Linked DNA regions of Homo sapiens: region 1 is linked to region 2. The links are contacts of gene promoters, found by promoter capture Hi-C in blood cells and fetal thymus (Javierre and others, 2016). All regions are on one chromosome and are shown on one strand. The core of a region is centred on a gene start or on the middle of the fragment in contact, and the rest is flanking DNA. Distances in the headings are between cores, read along the strand shown.

The links. Contacts are between HindIII fragments. The CHiCAGO score rates a contact against its expected background, and 5 or more counts as called.
Region 1: the fragment with the promoter of LMO4 here is called in contact with the fragment with the promoter of RNPC3 in region 2 in 1 of 17 cell types (total CD4 T cells); the score reaches 12.0 in total CD4 T cells.

What each region holds. Positions count from the first base shown.
Region 1 is chr1:87,326,730-87,332,551 of GRCh38, reverse strand. LMO4 (LIM domain only 4) reads right to left here and starts at 3,672. Exons shown (of 5, transcript NM_006769.4): 1 at 3,308-3,672; 2 at 301-539. The coding sequence starts at 536. RefSeq lists enhancers at 1-550, 551-1,189, 1,498-3,043, 2,609-3,184, 3,185-3,762 and 1 more and silencers at 882-1,241, 2,608-2,697, 3,621-4,050, 4,301-4,470. The HindIII fragment of the contact is 2,085 bases long and covers 2,555-4,639 here.
Region 2 is chr1:103,524,224-103,529,808 of GRCh38, reverse strand. RNPC3 (RNA binding region (RNP1, RRM) containing 3) reads right to left here and starts at 4,110. Exons shown (of 15, transcript NM_017619.4): 1 at 3,547-4,110; 2 at 2,067-2,114. The coding sequence starts at 3,738. It overlaps RNPC3-DT (RNPC3 divergent transcript), which reads left to right and starts at 4,301. Exons shown (of 4, transcript NR_168321.1): 1 at 4,301-4,413. RefSeq lists an enhancer at 3,659-3,898 and a silencer at 4,219-4,318. The HindIII fragment of the contact is 7,657 bases long and covers 1-5,585 here.

The sequences.
Region 1 (5,822 bases), core at 2,423-4,922, about 16 Mb after region 2:
AGTAGAGGCTGACCACTTACTTAAACTCTAGGACCAGAGGGTGCTCAACCTTTGCACATCTAATGACCCAGTCCCACCAGATGGTCTTTACTTAGTATGGCATTTGCCATGAATTTGCCATCAGATATTGGAAGACTAACACATGCTTCCTGAACCCCTTAAATTCCGCCAACTAGAAGATTTTTGAGGTGAAGGCTGCATACTCCCCGTAGACGCCTACTCCTTTCCTCACAACCCTGTTAACCTTTGGCCTTGCCATTGCTCTTCCCCCCATCTCCAGGAAAGACAGCAAAGTCTTACCTAATGTAGTCATTTCTGCAAAGGATCATGCCACTTTTGGTGTAACAGGACGTGCCGATGTCGCCCAGCTGCGCCTGGCAGCAGGAGCACTTGAGGCACCGGCTGTGCCAATAGCTGTCCATGGCATAGAGCAGAAAGCGGTCCGCAATCTTGCCCCCGCAGCCTGCGCACCGCTTCCAGGAGAGGGAGCCGGCCGTCACCGGGGGCGGCTGCGAGCTGCTGCCCGGATTCACCATGGTCTGCAGAGGGCGGGAAGGGGACAGGGAGAGAAAGACAAAACAGGGGCGATGCAAAAGTTAGTAATCGCCGGAGAGAGAGCAAGCCCATTCCCCTCCTCCCCGCGGAGCTGCTGGAAGGAAACAGCAGGGCAAGGGCGGGAAGGAGGCTGAGGGGGAGAGGGAAGAAGGGAGGCTCGCCGGCAGCAGCCGCCTGTTTACTTTTCTCAAGCTTTGTTCTGGGGCCACGAGCTCCTCTCAACTTTCCTGCGCTTGCCGCCGCTGACAATTTCAGCTCCGGTACTGTCAAAACTCCGAGAGCAGGCTCCGCTGCGCGCTCCACCCCTCGCGGCACCTCCTCCCAGCCCCCGCCTCCGCCCACTGCCCCCTCCTCCCCTCCTCCGCCGCCCGCCTCCAGCAAATGAGGGTCAAACCCACCCACCGCCGCGCCCGGCCCCTCCCCAGCCCCCGCCGGGCCCCGGGACAGAGCCGAGAGGAGTGGGGAGGCGGCGGCCCCGCCGGAGCCTCGTTCCCTCCCGGGTTCTGCCCCGGGAAGTGCAGCTGCAGTTCACAAGTTGGAAATAGTTCGGTTTTCCGAAAGGGAACGAGGGAGGGACCGGCAGACGGGAGACGGAGAGCGTGGTGATGGGAGGGAAGGCAAGGTGACGGGAGGGGTGGGTGCAGTGTGTAAAGTTGCGAAACTGGTTTTTCGTATTTTAAGCAGCACCTTTCACATGCCATTGTGGTGACCGCCATCTCCCATTATTGTTCCAAATCTCATTTCATTTTGAAGATCAATGAGTGTTTTCTCTGGGTTTTCAGGACACAGGCAAGAATAATAGATCATTGAACTTTAGGATGCCTGTTAACTTCCTATACAAACACTCTCCACTTTGGTCTCACTAATCTGCCCTTGATCAGCAATTTAAATGCTAAAGCTTTGTTCCTCCAAAGGGCGGGGGGGGGGGGGGGGCGGGCGGCGTTACAGATAATGTGCGAGAAGGCACCATTAAGGGATGCACAAGTTAAATTCGAGCCCGTCCTGCTGTCACCAAAAACTGCTTTAAAAAAGAATTCCCCACTCTAATGAATGCCACAAGAGATGCAACTGGGATATAATATAGGAATCAATTTATAAAGCTTAGCCTAAACCGATTAATTTGTTGCCTTCAATCCCGAGTCCAATAAAGTCCTAGTGTTCCTCTAGTCACTTATTCTGTAAAAAGATCAAGTTATTTACTGCCAATTAAGCAGCCTGTATTGTCTTTGTCCTCTGTAAGCTGAGAGTGTGGGCTCCCCCTGAGGCTCCCGGCTATCTGCTCAAGACATTCAGCTGATACCTCAGAAGAAGGCGAACTTTGCCTGTACCCGGCCCAACTTGGCTGCTGCAAAAAAAACGAGGAAGGAACGAAACAAGGACTCGGGTTCCTTAAATAGGCCGATTTTAAACACATTTCCTCCGAAAGAGTCCCGGAACGTGTGTCCAGTGACCGCACAATAAACCAGAATAAGAACTGCACCAATTAAGCTGTAACAAAACCCTGAGACTTTGGAAACAGGACCACTCTAAAACCCATTAGCATTGCATTTATCCGAATGCATCATACCTTTATGTAAATTGATTTATCTGATGCATTTACTCGAGGAATTGCTTTTTGTTACAATTTCAGCCCTAACCCAAATGAATCTGCATTTCCTGCCCTAGATCTTTAAACTGTTTCCCCCAACGTTTTAATCGCTCCGAATTCCTTTTTAAAAGGAGAGTGAGGGAGGAGATTCCAAGCTCTTCCCCGCCCCCATCTTTAGTGAGAGGTAAATATATATGTATTTTTTTTTTGAAAAGGAAACATTACACTGAGAAAAGCATCCAGTAACCCCATTAGCTAAAGCTCTTAAGGACAAGCAATACCTTAATGCTGATTAAATCTAAAAGAGATGAATCAAGAAGACTGACCAGAAACTGACTCCCCTGATAACTAAGGACGGGCCCTCATCAAGTTTCATTTAGAGTTGGAAAAAAAAAAAAAAAAAAGAAAGCTTTTAAGTTAAATAGGCTTATACTCTAGTAATTACATAGCCAAGCAATTTAGGTCCTGGGATAGTCAGTGAAATAGAAAGCAGAACTGGCAGCTAGAGGCAAAATCTGCCCCCCTTTAACAACGTCTCTGGTGTTTTTTAATGGAGACCAAGGGAGGGACAAACGTAACGCTGGCAATTTGTAGTACAAAAATGGATGCTTAATTCATGTCTTGATTTTAATTAGGTGATTCACCGTATTTCTCCTGGATTGGAACAAAAGACTTATAAGCCAAGAAGAATTTTTTTAAAAGAACCAGCAATACCGAATCCTGCTCACTTAGATCCTTCCTGCCACTGTTTCAAAAATAGTGTTTACTAGAAGGGAGGGGGGGTATCGTGACTATCCCCACCCCCACCCCCCCAAACACACTACTTCTCATACTTAAAATCCTCATCTAAGCACCCCTTGCCTTTCCCTTATGAACTAGAAATATCCCCACCCCCTCTACGGTCCCCACCAGCCCCGTTTCCAAGAAGAGCCCTTTTGTAAGCAGGAACCGCTACAAAGCTGGCGGCCCGGGGCTGCCCTCCGCGCTAGCTCGCAGGCCGGCCTCGGTAGTTTCAGACTCGCGCTTTATCTAAGCCGACGTATTGTTTACTTGCAATTTGGGACGGTCAGGGGAAGGAAGCCAAAGAAAACAGCCCTGGCCCGAATCGACCCCCTCCCTCCCTCTCCCACCTCCCGGCCCGCGGCTCTCCACCCGCCCCCTTACCTGCTTTTCCCCTATATTGCAATATTGCGAGAGGCGGCGGCGGTGAAATGCGAGCGAAGCCGCTCGGCTTCCAGGGAAGGGGCGCCTGGGCTGGCGGAGCTGGAGGGAGGGAGGGAGTTCTCGCAGAAGCAGGAAAGGGGAGGAGGGGGCTAAGGGCGGCTTTTTTTTTTTTTTTAAATCGCGTTGCTCTGGGGCGGGTTGGGGGGCCCCCGCGTAAGTGCCGGGCGGCCGGGAGCAGAAGTGTCAGTCTCAGTCTTCGTCCTTCTCCGCCTCCGACTGCGCGCGAGCAGCTGCAGGAGCCCTCGGCCCGCGCGGCGCGGCTTCAGGCGCGGCGCAGCGGCAGCAACTGCTGCAATCGCTGCTGCAAGTTTGGCAATGTGGCTTCACTTTGTATATTCCCCCGCCCGGGGGCCCCCGCCCCCGCCCGCGCTCCTCCCGCTCCTCCTCCTCCTCCGCCGCCGCCTTCCTCCCTCCCGCGCGCTCGCTCGCTTGCTCGCTCCGGGATGGCAGCGGCGGCTCGGCTGAGCTCCCTGCACCTCCGGCCGGGAGCAGTCGCAGACACAACAGCCCCGGGAGCGGCGGCGGACGGTGCGGAGGCCGGCAGGCAGGCGCACCCAGGCGTCGGGGGCTGCGGCCGGCCGGGCCCGGCGCGCTGGAGCCTGCGCCGCTGCCGGGGCTGTTGCTGCCCGGCTCGGAGGCGGCGGCGGCGGCGGCGCTGGCCTCTAGCCGGCTCGCTCGCTCCCTCCGCGGCTCTTACACATGTGTTACTGACAGAGCAAAATCCCAACTACTCCCCGGCTCTGCCTCCGACGTCAGCGACCCTCAGCCACTGGGCGGCCGGATTGTTCAGGCGGAATAATAAAACCTGCCAATCCGGGGAAGGACAAAGGGATGACTGAAACGAGACTCGGGGGGCGGGAGAGAGAGCGAGGCGGCAGAGCTGGCCGACAGAGGAGAAGGGAAGGGCCCGAATCAGGTGGGGTGAAGTGACCCGGGCGCCTGGGGCCGGGGACCCGCTTGGGCTGCCCTTCGCGACCCGGGATCCGGAGTCGAGACGCAGGGCGGGGCCTCACCTGCCTTCTCAGCGCACGGGGACCCTGAGGACCCGCGCCCGCTCGCCCCTCGGGGACTGCCATCCCCTCTATCTGAGAGGAGACCCTTAGGAAACTTACCATCTTTCTCAGAAATGGGTCTCTTCCTGTTTGGGAAGATAAGTCCTGCATCTTAGGGCAGTGGACTTCTATCCCCTCACGCACAAGCACACAGAAGAGGATTTTTGTTGTTGTTTCTTTAATTCACGATATTGGAGATTTATGAACCGTAGTGGAAGCTTAGTTAACAAGGTAGAAACATAAAGGAAATAATAGTTGCTAGCTAAATACTGCCTACTTAGCCTCCCTCATACTCCCATTTTTCCGAGTTTGAAAGTGCCTAGCAGGCATTTCCTGGATCCTTGTCAATTGCTGGTGATGTAGGGAGCACAGTCCTTATTTTCAAAGTTGACGAAAACTTAAGGGAGAAAGCCTTTCCCGACTACCCTCCTCACTGTGGAGGATGAGAGGCGGAAATTCTCACAGCCCCCAAAAGCAATGGAAGTAATTGCAAGATTTGCAATCTCACAGCCTCTAGAGAGTAAGAAATGTCACTTCTAGTATAAATCAAGTTTTGAGGAATGCTTTTAGGGTGCTAGCCTGAGAGTCTTTTTCCAAGGCCGAAGCACAGCCTAGATGCTTGAATACCTAGGCATTCGACTTTATCTACTCTGCCAAATAGGTTAAATAAATCTCCAGACTGAGGCTAATATTAGGCCTGATTATTGTTAGTAAGTTCCAGAGAGATTTTTCTGGTGGAAATTATCATGAAAGTGCAAAGCCCTTCTGCTAAGTATCATTAAGTAAAACCAGCCTTGTGGGGCAAGTTTTCATATTGTGTTACACACAGTACTGCTAGATTGAGGAAAGGAACCTGAAGGAGAATCTGGCGAGACAATGCAGATGTTGAACATTTAGGGTTTTAGTGTCTATTTGGGGGATTTCTGTCTTTCAAACCATCAAAATTAATAAGGCTGCATAAGAAAGAATAATTATTGCCCATACAGTCAGGTAGAGGGCATTTTAAATATCAATTCAAATACTCATTTTTTAATTCTAGCACCTTAAAATTAAATGAATTAATTTTATTGATTTGTATTTAAAGTTGCACTGCTATGATGAATTCACCTTGTGCACATATAAAAAACTTTTTTTAAAAAAAAGTCATTAAAACTATAATAGTAATTAAAATGTCCTACACAGAAAACAGCTACAGATGGGCATGATTAAAGAGGACCAACTTAGAAAAGATGTAATGCTGCTTGAAGGTTAGTCAAGAAAACTCAATTAAACCAGATGAGGAGAGGAACACCATAAACAAATAATACATTTGAATCCCCTGGTTCATTTTCACTTTTTAAATAATTTATAATAAAAGGAGATGACACAAGATCTTAGTGGGCTACAATTAAGTTATGATTTGT
Region 2 (5,585 bases), core at 2,861-5,360:
CAGGCCGTGGCTGGGTACCAGTCTGTGTCCCAGGGTTTGAGGATCCCTGCCTTACATCATCATACAAAGTTAATTTTAAAATGTTTCAATAATTTTCAAGACCCTAAATGAACTTTAGACCTCTTTATTATCAGTGAAGCCTTGATTATCTGAAATGAAGGTCATCTAACCTGACTTACTCCAACTTTCTTCTTCTCAAATGGGTATCACATATGTTCTTATTTTCAAAGATTTATGGTTTTTCATTTTTAATGTTAACTCCTCCTACCTGACTCGGCTACTTACTCTATTCTTGAACATTTCTCCCTTTGTTTTCTTAATCTATCACTTTCCAATTAGGCCAAATGCTCTCTAGCCTAAAAGCCCTATCAATATTGCCGTTAACCTCTTACTGCTTCCTTTCACTACAGACATTTCCAAAGACAATGACTGGCTCCATGTCCTCTCCTCCAAGTTATTCTTGACCCTAAAACAATGCGTTTTTCATTACCATACTTTATTTACAATGTATTATGATATATTTTTAAAAATACTTTTTTTCTGAAAAAAAATTACCTACCATTATAAAAGTACATATTAATATAATATGAAAGCCCTCTGTAATCCTACTCTCAGAGAAAGATGTTTTTAACATTTTGGTGTATAGTTCTGCCATATTTTTTCTGTGTATATGCTAACATGTATACTATTAGTTTCAAAAAATCTGAGGTTACATCATATATAATGTTTCACAACTTTATTCATGTACTCTATCTGGGCTATCATTCCATATTAACACATACCATTTGACATCATTCTCAGACAGTTGCAGTCCAGTATATGGATATAATGTGATTTAAGGCTTCCCTTCCTTTTACCGATGAGAATTTGGGTCATTTCTATTGTTTCATGGCAAAAAGACTTTAATAGATGTGTTCATTCCTCATTTTGCATCATCACAGGATTTCATCTTCTTAAAACACACTTCTCTTTGCATCAGTGATAATTTCCTTTCTAGTTCTCCTACTTTAACTGCTCCTTCCCATTCTTCTCTCCTAGCTTATTATCCTTTGGGCAAACATATCTATTCACATGGTTGAAGAATCTTTCCATTCTTCACCTTGCCTCAGCTCTCATTAATATTTTTAAATATTTCCATAAAAGTAGCCCAATGACCCCTCCAAGTTAACAGATGACAAGTGAATTCATCCTATGCCTTTGCAAACATCCTCTGGATCCTCATGTCAGCTAATATAACAACCCAAATAACTCAATCCTCAATCTAAATATCCTGAACTATTCTCTCTCAACCCCTATATTATAAAACCTACAAACTCAATCTCTATTGAATATATATTTACTTCCCCCTTTGTCTTCTTACTGTCTTCTTCAGATAGTTATTCTTGCCTTGGCCATTATAACAGCCTTCCATTTGGTCTCCTACCTCTAATAATTCTGCACATCCAATCCATGATATGAACTATACCAGATATCTTTAACAGGCCTGATCATATTATGAGCCAGCTCAAAAGTATCAAGTGTCCACCTACTAAACCAAACTCAATACCTCTCTCCCAGACTCAAATCTATTTTTCAAGTTCCATTTCCATCTCAACCCTTAGCTCCTGCTCCACTTATAACTTCCAATGTCTCACAGCTTTATTTGGTGTTCTGCAAGCCCAGAAGGCCCATCTCCACTTGTTTCCTTCTGAAAAAATCCAATTAATCATTAGACTTCTAGCTAAAAGATCACCTCCTGTGAATGATTCCCTGGCATTATAAAGAAATGTATATTCTCCTTTTAACACTTGAAACATCTTACCTTGTAACAGTCACAGAGATATTTATCAATCTAAATCATTTAGAAATTGTTATTTTAATTACATACGCAGTTAGTTTTTCTTTATAGATAATCTACTAAAGGACTGGGCAAGATCTGCCAACTGACAAATCAAATGTAGTCTGTTGGGGAAACTGTTGGAATACAAACGCTTTTGCTTCTTAAAAACCACAGTTAAACATTATCTGAACCAAGATTGTATAAGAGGATCCTGTTGACAACTTTAATCGTCAAGAAAAAGTCATACCTTTATAGCTGCTTTTTCATTAGGGAATGTGGCAAAAGCTGTATGTTTCTGAAACAGAGTTAAGGTACAAATTACTTCCAATATAATTTCAGTTTCTCACAAAGAAATCTGACTTTTTACCAGTGGAGTAATGTGACATGTTAATAAAATCACGGGAAAGGATGAAAACTCAAGACCATTTAACTGATTACTAATTTCAGTCCAGTGGTTTTCAATACTTTTTGAGTCAGACTTGAGATGAAAGCTATGCAACCTCTATCATATAAAGACACACGTTTTACACATGCAAATAGTTCAAAAGACCAAAAGTTTAAAGACCTGTTCTACACAGAGGGTCACTTTTAACCAACTAAAAATTTATTTCCTTCATTTATGACAGATCTAAAGATTTTAAACTTTCCTCTATACATAACAATGCGTAGTTTAAAAACATTCACCAACAGAGAAATCGTTCTTCAAGGTGCATATTTCCTTTGTGCTTTATCTTTGTAATAATGTTCAATGGGAGAAGTCTATTTTTAAACATAAATTATACGGATTTTAAAAACCATCAGAAAAGAAACACAAATCAACAGTAAAAGAATCACTATGCTAAGGAAGAGCTCTGGTCAATGCTTATTAAAAGTTACTTTAATAATTATATCGCACATTCTAATTTTGTCTAATCTGATACACGATGACCTGATGTACTTAAATTGAGCCATATATAATTTTTTTTTTTTAATTTGCAGGCATAAGTGACATTTAAACTGATCAAAATTGGTCTTTCTTCTAATTCAGTAACTCTCAACTTGGGCTGCACATTAACATTAAAATCACCTAGGGAAACTTTAAAACCACTGAGTCTTGCACCATCGCTATTCCTATTTTAATGAAGAGAAATCTAAAATATCTTTGGATATAAAGCAAAACAAAGTAATTGTGTAAATTCCTACACAGGTACTCTTAACAGCCCTAAAAAATTGTTCCCTAAAAGATGTCATCGGGAAATTTTTATGAAAAGCCTCTTTTTCTAGTTGAAATTCTGCATTTAATTTACGCAAGTCACCAATGTAGCTTCTCCTCTATTTTAATGAACGATTTAACATTGGCTTATAAATGAAGTAGGACTTTAAAAAATCCCTTGATGCACATTTGTAAGAATACTCTTGAGTCCAGGAGAAATAACCCCAAATTCAAAAAAGTTGTGAGGCTCTCAGGATGGATCCGAAAACTCAATATAACTAAGCTAATTTCCATTCTTCTGCTTTGTCGTTCTCACTTGCCCTTTTCTGCAGTGCTATGACTAATCCAGACTCGAGCCGATTAAAACTCCACTTCGCAGAGCAGATATTTTGATAAAAAAGAGGTAGGATGGGGGAGCTCTCATCACACAAGTCCATCTTCCCCACTCGTTTCCATTTTACTCTTGTCAGCGCTCCCCCTCCCCGGTCACTTCCCAAATGCCTTCCCGGGAGACTCCGGAGGGGCGCGCCCTTACCAGTCGCCCCTTATCTGACAGGACCCGCACAGACTGAGCCCCGAAGTACTTCAGCAAGTCCTCTTTCTCCTCAGCAGTAAGCTCAGCCGGCAGGTGCCTGACCAGAAGGGTTCGGTCGCCCCGAGGCGGGGAAAGCGAGGAGGAGCTCGTGCATCCCCTTGATATCGCAAGCGGCTGCTCGGGAGCTGCCATTTTCCTTGGAGAAGCAAAAACAGAAATCGTGGGAAGAAGTCTCAGTCAAAATCGCGGCATCAACACAAGCTGGGAGAAATATTTTTTCCGCCTCGCGCTAAGGATTCTGGAAACCAGGAAATACCGAGAAAGAAAGTCACCTTCTCGCGAGAACTGCGCCACCGAAAAGCGGCAACCCTTCGAAGACTCTTCGGGGAAGGGCGCGGTGCTAATGATTTAAATTCCAGGGGTCTCCGGAAAGACTTACAAGCAAAAATTGGCCCAGAGATGTGCGAGGGTTAACACAAGTTGTCAATCAAAGAAGGAAACAGGAACCCCAGCCACTTCAGGGAAAGAAGGTTGACGCTCAAGGACAAGAGGACTCACGACTGCGCATGTGCGGGCTGGGACCGTCACAGGGCGGGGCGGGGCGCACGGCGGGGCGGGGCGCACGGCGGGGCGGGGCGCACGGCGGGGCGGGGCGCACGGCGGGGCGGGGCGCACGGCGGGGCGGGGCGCACGGCGGGGCGGGGCGCACGGCGGGGCGGGGCGCACGGCGGGGCGGGGCGCACGGCGGGGCGGGGCGCACGGCGGCGAGCGCTATCTGGAGCTGACCGTGCGGCTCTTAATCCCTGGCCTTGGGAAAGTGAATTGGCCTGAATAGCAAGGAGGAGAACTTGGGTGTGGAAATACCGGGTATGTTCTTACAGTATTTAGATGGTAAAATATAAAGCTAGCCAGTTATTCTGTCAACTCATTAGACACCATTGTAGGGAGGAGAACTCAGTTTAAGGGGCAAAACGTTGAGAGTTCAGACTTTTTTCTTGAATCAGTAGGCATTTAGCAGACGGATAGGCCCCTGCCAGGGTTCATTTCGCAGAAATGGCAGCCTCTAGGGAGAGGTAACCTAATAAATAAATTATTGCATGTGTGTGTATGTGTGTGTGTGTAGGGGTGTGTGTGTGTGTGTGTGTGTATGTGTGTGTGTGTGTAGGTGTAGGTACTTTTCTCCCTATTTTACAGCTGAGGACACTGATGTACAAAGAGGTTAAATCACACAGCTAGAAAGTGGAAGAACTAAGTTTTGACCCTTGGTGTTCTGACTGGGGGTCTACATTCTAATCCACTGTTCTGCCTAGATTCTGAATGGAGTGAGGCAGGGATCATCCCCGGAGGGTCAGGAATGTACCCCTCACCCCATACAGAGAGGGCCTTGAGGATTCTAAAGAGAGGTTTTATGCTAGATGTAGCTGCTACAGTCTGGAGAACCAGAGTTCCTCTTACAGTTCTTTTTGCCACTTAAATAAATGTTAGAGATACAGCAGTAAGCAGTATACCAGCAATCTGCTGTCATCCCGCATTGGTTGGGGAAAAGGAGAGAGACAGATATTAATGAAAACTAGAAGACAAACATGAGAAGAACCTTCCCCACACACCCACCAAAATATCAGATAGGTAGAGCCAGACCACGTAGACGCTGTAGATTTGTTAGGAGCCCTTTTTATTTGAGGAACATTTAGAAACTGACAAATTCTTTAAGTAGGTGTGTGTTGAGGGGAGAGAATCAAAGTTTAGGTATGAAAATTTCTCCGGTTGCAATGCAAAAAACAGAAGCAGAAAGACCAGTTGGACTACTGTAGAAGTCTGGAGAAAAACACTACCATAATAGTTTGGTGAAAGTGGACATGTAGAGAAGGAACTGGAATTGAGATACGTTTTAGAAGTAGTTGATAGGAACTTGCAGATGAAGAATAGTAAGCAAGGATAAATTCTGGATTTTTGGCTTAAGCTAGATATTATCCATCTGTAGATGATGATGCCATTTACTGAATGTGAGAAGATTGACCAAGTATAGCTAGGTTAGAAAC